Regions from separate parts of the Homo sapiens genome. Here region 2 is linked to region 1. Evidence: promoter capture Hi-C in human tissues and cell types (Jung and others, 2019). All regions are on one chromosome and are shown on one strand. The core of a region is centred on a gene start or on the middle of the fragment in contact, and the rest is flanking DNA. Distances in the headings are between cores, read along the strand shown. Region 1 holds the start of PNMA1 (PNMA family member 1). Region 2 has its middle 3.6 kb from the start of RBM25.

The links. The method cuts DNA at HindIII sites, captures the fragments that hold promoters and counts their contacts. A contact is called where the count stands out against the background at its distance.
Region 2: a contact is called between a fragment that was not itself captured here and the fragment with the promoter of PNMA1 in region 1, in 1 of the 25 tissues and cell types used here (dorsolateral prefrontal cortex).

What each region holds. Positions count from the first base shown.
Region 1 is chr14:73,712,676-73,715,633 of GRCh38, reverse strand. It overlaps PNMA1 (PNMA family member 1), which reads left to right and starts at 1,250. Exons shown (of 1, transcript NM_006029.5): 1 at 1,250-2,958. The coding sequence starts at 1,995. MIDEAS (mitotic deacetylase associated SANT domain protein) reads left to right here. Exons shown (of 13, transcript NM_001367710.1): 13 at 1-512. RefSeq lists enhancers at 785-854, 1,795-1,854 and silencers at 1,075-1,354, 1,535-1,704. The HindIII fragment of the contact is 17,175 bases long and covers 1-1,618 here.
Region 2 is chr14:73,053,346-73,056,473 of GRCh38, reverse strand. No RefSeq gene overlaps it. Among named protein-coding and RNA genes, the nearest start is that of RBM25, 3.6 kb to the left of the region's middle. The HindIII fragment of the contact is 3,860 bases long and covers 1-3,128 here.

The DNA.
Region 1 (2,958 bases), core at 1-2,500:
TTTACAGGAAGTAGGGATATTTTTATAAAACAATTGTGTCCTCCCCACATTTTGCTATGTTAATATTTGCTTCTAACAATTTGCAGCTGTTTCACTTTTTCCTCATTTGTCTCTAAGTTGAAGGCTTTGTTGGAGGGGACAGAGCACAGGAACAGCCTTGACAGTCTGTAATTATTGTACAGATATTTTAATAGCATATAAATAAGTATATTCCTTTTATTTTGAAACAAAAATGATCAGACACTGCCTTTTGTGTGTTTGCTGCCTGTGGCATCCTTTTTTAAAAAGACTGTTACATATTAAAATAGTGTACATATATAAATATTACCTCTTTTGCTGTACAGTTGTGATAGAGACTGAAGATTTTATTTTTTGTGTGCTTTTTATAAGAAAAAAATTAATACACTAAAGAATCTTGCTGATGTGATTGTAATGTACCTATGTAACTTATTTACTTTTGAATGTTCTTCTGTATCTTTAAACCTTTTATTAAATAAGGTTTTAAAAATTCAGAGTTGAATGCTTTGTTCTCTTGGGATTTTCACCATCTGGGGTTGATGTAAGTGCGCCTTGTCTTGCTTGCAGGGAGATTACTCGACATTTTTGAACCATAAGGATTCTCTTTTAGCAGCCTATTGTCAATGATGCCAGCCAGGAAAAGGAAAATAATACACTAATGTTTGCCTGGCTAAAAGATGACTCAGTAGACACAGACAGATTTTTACAAAATTTTAGACAAGAAAAAGTCTAAACTCAGTGTCTCACACAAATACACAGAAATGGCGCACTCCGACATTTTGGCTTCATTGGGATGAAATATGCAGGGTGCACAGTGTGGTCAGGGGCAACGGGAAGCCAGGGTTCTGAGGAGAGTATTTTCACGTGCAGGGTGGACTGGCTGAGCAACCCGAGTAGACAAGTCCACCATGAGGGATGCATTTCCAACAATATCATCTTAAATCCACTCCAGGATTGGGTTATTATTTTTAAAACACGGTGCTTAGTAGTAGTTGTTTACTGTTAAAATGCTAAATTATGAAAAAGGAAATGCGCCATCAGAGAAACAAATGCCCGAGCCCCTCGCTGGCTCCACGGCAACCGCTCGACCCCCGCGAGCCGCCGGAGCAGGCGTGCCTCGCGCCGGCTGGGACACCGTTGCCATGGAGACGCCCGAGCAGCTCCGCCGCGGGGGCGGGACGGGGCGGGGCGGGGCGGACGCCGCTCGCCGGCTGGCCCCATCCTCCACTGCAGCAGTAACGTCGCGGCGGGTTGCGGGTAGGACTGGACGCCAGAGCAGCCGCGCAGCGCCTGAACCGCTGCGGGCCGCCGCGGCCGCCCCTTCCCACCCTCGCCTCTGCTGTCTCCAGCCTCGCTTCTCCGACTTTCCTGCTCCTCTGCTGCCTTCGTTTCTGGTCCTCGGCCGTCCTCGCCGCCCGCCCAGAGGAGTCCCCGCGCCCGCCAAGAAGCCGCTTTCCGCTGGCCCGCAGCCGCCGCGACTTCGGCACAGTTTCTCCCTCTGGCTAGTCTCCCAAACGGCCGCTCCTCGCCCGCGGGAAGACCAGGCTGCGACCGCGAACGCCCGATCCTCTCCAGGAGCCGCAGCGAGCGCCCGGCGGCCACGCCCCGCGACCACACCCCGGCGGCTCTCGGCCCAGCGCGCCTGCCTTCGCCGCCCGCCGTCGCTCCTCGCCCGCTGCACGACGACGCGACGCCCCTGCTGCAGGCGGCGGACCCGACCGGACCCAGACCCAGACGCAAGATGGCGACGGCCGCGTGACTGCCTCAGCGTCCCCGAGCTCGGCTCCGAGTGCACCTACGGACTGACTGTGGGGGCAGAGAAGGGCGAGATCAGGACTCTGTCTTTGTTAATCGTGACTGCATGAAGGTCGCCTCCCTCGGGCCTACTTGGTGGGAGTGTCTGGTATTGTTCTAAGGCCAGGAGCACGGTGAGCCACAGTCTGTTGGTAGAATTTGGCGTCTTGATAGTTGAGAAAATGGCGATGACACTGTTGGAAGACTGGTGCCGGGGGATGGATGTGAACTCCCAGAGAGCTCTGTTAGTCTGGGGCATCCCAGTGAACTGTGATGAGGCTGAAATCGAAGAGACCCTCCAGGCTGCGATGCCCCAGGTCTCCTACCGAATGCTTGGGAGAATGTTCTGGAGGGAAGAAAATGCGAAAGCAGCCTTATTAGAGCTCACTGGCGCTGTAGATTACGCCGCGATCCCCAGGGAGATGCCGGGCAAAGGAGGGGTCTGGAAAGTGTTATTTAAGCCCCCAACTTCTGATGCTGAATTTTTAGAAAGATTGCACCTCTTCCTAGCTAGAGAGGGGTGGACCGTGCAAGATGTTGCCCGTGTCCTTGGGTTTCAGAACCCTACTCCGACCCCGGGCCCAGAGATGCCAGCAGAGATGCTAAACTATATTTTGGATAATGTTATTCAGCCTCTTGTTGAGTCCATATGGTACAAGAGGCTGACACTTTTCTCGGGGAGGGACATCCCAGGGCCTGGAGAGGAAACCTTTGATCCCTGGCTGGAGCACACTAATGAGGTCCTAGAGGAGTGGCAGGTGTCCGATGTAGAAAAGAGGCGGCGGTTGATGGAGAGTCTTAGAGGCCCCGCCGCTGATGTTATTCGCATCCTTAAGTCCAACAACCCCGCGATAACCACTGCCGAATGCCTGAAGGCGCTTGAGCAGGTGTTTGGGAGCGTTGAGAGCTCTAGGGATGCCCAGATCAAATTTCTGAACACTTATCAGAACCCGGGAGAAAAATTGTCTGCTTATGTCATTCGTCTGGAGCCTCTGCTACAGAAGGTGGTAGAGAAGGGGGCCATTGATAAAGATAATGTGAACCAGGCCCGCCTAGAGCAGGTCATTGCCGGGGCCAACCACAGCGGGGCCATCCGAAGGCAGCTGTGGCTTACCGGGGCTGGGGAAGGGCCAGCCCCAAACCTCT
Region 2 (3,128 bases), core at 475-2,974, 660 kb after region 1:
GTGTCCCTTTTTATTATTAGAAACATTGTACATGAATTTGTGTTTACTGTGTAATAAAGGGAGCCCTCAGGCAACAATTTGCTAACTTTCCTACCTTAGACAATTTGTTGCTGATGTTCATGCAGCATCCATTCCCCTTGCCTTTAGTAATGAACCCTCCACATTTTTTAAAAGAAACCATCTTGGCCGGGTGCGGTGGCTCACGCCTGTAATCCCAGCACTTTGGGAGGCCGAGGCAGGCAGATCACGAGGTCAAGAGATCAAGACCAGCCTGACCAACATGGTGAAACCCCGCCTCTACTAAAAATACAAAAATTAGCTGGGCTTGGTGATGTGTGCCTGTAGTCCCAGTTACTTGGGAGGCCAAGGCAGGAGAATCGCTTGAACCTGGGAGGCAGAGGTTGCAGTGAGGCGAGATTGCGCCACTGCACTCCAGCCTGGGCAACAGAGCAAGACTCTGTCTAAAAAAAGCCAGGTGCAGTGGCTCACACCTGTAATCCCAGCACTTCAGGAGGCCGAGGCGGGTGGATCACCTGAGGTCAGGAGTTCGAGACCAGCCTGGCCAACATGGCGAAACCCTGTCTCTACTAAAAATAACAAAAATTAGCTGGGCGTGGTGGCAGGCACCTGTAATCCCAGCAGCTCAGGAGGCTGAGGCAGGAAAATCGCTTGAACCCAGCAGGCAGAGGTTGCAGTGAGCCGAGATCGCGCCATTGCACTCCAGCCTGGACAACAAGAGCAAAACTCGGTCTAAAAAAAAAAAAAAGAAAAGAAACCATCCTTCCACTACTCCAGATCCATGTACTTTGGATAGGAAGTCCCAACTCTAACCAGACCCCCTTAGGACACAGGAGTAAACTTACAACCTAATCAAAACCTGATGATTTAGTCACCCCTCCCTTTTTTTTTTTTTTTTTTTTTTGGTACTAGCCACTGTTTAAAGCATTTTGCAAATATCAACTCCTTTAATCCTCATAACAACCCCCTGAAGTAAGAACTATTGTGATACAAATGAAGAAACCAAGGCTTGCAAAAATTAACCTATCAAAGGCTACAAAAATAGTAAGTGAGCCAGTCTGGTTCCTGAGTTCGTGCTCTGGAACATTATACTGCTTCATCCTTTCAGGAATAATCCTAAAAAGAAGGGGAGGGGTCTCTATATTTTTCATTTAAATTGATTTTTTTTTTTCAATTTAAGCTTAGGAGGATTTAAGCTTAGAATAGATGGGGATGAGAATGAAATCACAGAAGAAAGCAGAAGTAAGACAGGGTGAGAGATTTTTGACAATATCAGTTGAGAAAATGGTTCATTCATTCATTTTGTTTGTTTTTTGGTTTGTTATTGCTGTTGTTATTTGAGATAGGGTCTCCCTTTGTTGTCCCGGCTAGAGTGCAGTGGCATGATCACGGCTCACTGCAGCCTCAACTTTCCAGGCTCCAGCGATTCTCCCACCTCAGCCTCCCAAAAGCCAGGATTACACTGAGCCCGGCTGGCTCAGCTACTCCTAAAGCCAGCTGTTCTAGGCTTATCAGTATGTAACCCAATACATTACTTTTCCGAAATCAGTTTGAGTTGAGTTTTCTATTCCTTACACAGAAAGAACTCTAAATGATACACTTATATACCACTTGTAGAGAACAAGCCAAGCCATTCATTTGCGATGCCAGTTATCCTCCTTCTATTTTTTTCTTACAAATCCTTGCTAAGGAAACTGTAGATAATTAATTTGGATATTACATTCTGTGTGCATTTGGACACCATTCTTTTTTTTTTCTTTTTTTTTTTTTTGAGATGGAGTTTTGTTCTCATTGCCCAGGCTGGAATGCAATGGCATGATCTCGGCTCACCGCAACTTCCGCCTCCCAGGTTCAAGCGATTCTCCTGGCATAGCTTCCCAAGTAGCTGGGATTACAGGCACATGCCACCATGCCGAGCTAATTTTGTATTTTTAGTAGAGGTGGGGTTTCTCCATGTTAGCCAGGCCGGTCTCCAACTCCCGACCTCAGGTGATCCACCTGCCACAGCCTCCCAAAATGCTGGGATTACAGGCATGAGCCACCACACCTGGCCTGGACCCTATTCTCATTGGCCACATCTGACCCAACTAAACAGCAGCATACCAGGAAAAATGTTGTTTAGCTGGAACTGAGCAGATCTTCTCAAAAATTGAAACTGGAGCCCAGCACAGTAGCACACACCTGTAGTCTCAATCATGAGGAGAGAGGATTGCTTGTGTGTGTGTGTGTGTTTGCGTGTGTATGCATGGCCATCATTATATATATATATATATATATATATATATATATATACACACACATAAATACATATACATACATAAATATATATATATATACAATGCCATTATATAGTATATAATGGCATAAAATATATAAATATAATACATATAATGCCATTATATATATAATATATGTGAATATATATAATATATATGTGTATATAGAGAGAAGAAGATAGAGAGAGGAAGCACATTAACACAGAATCTAGAGATCAAGGCTGGACTACCCAGCAAGGTGGAGTAACTGAAGTTTACCAAGTTAAGTCAGGACTCTGAAAGGATGTTAAAGTGCTCCCTTGTTAGTAATAGTCCTAGGCTCTTGACAGAAGCAAACATAGTTCCCATGGAGAAAAGAATCCCTAATTTAGGCTTCAGGATTCTGATATCAAATGTGAGCTTAAAATTTAAAAATGCAGGCCAGGCATGATGGCTCACGCCTGTAATCCCAGCGCTCTGGGAGGCTGAGGCGGGTGGATCACCTGAGATCAGGAGTTTGAAACCAGCCTGACCAACATGGAGAAACCCTGTCTCTACTAAAAATACAAAACTTAGCCAGGTGTGGTGGCACTCACCTGTAGTCCCAGCTATTTGGGAGGCTGAGGCAGGAGAATTGCCTGAACCCAGGAGGCGGAGGTTGCAGTGAGCCAAGATGGCACCACTGCACTCCACCCTGGGTGACACAGCGAGACTTAGTCAAAAAAAAAAATTGACCGGGCAATGTGGCTCACACCTGTAATTCCAGCACTTTGGGAGGCTGAGGCAAGCGGATCACCAGAGGTCAGGAGTTTGAGTCCAGCCTGACCAACATGGAGAAATCCCGTCTCTACTAAA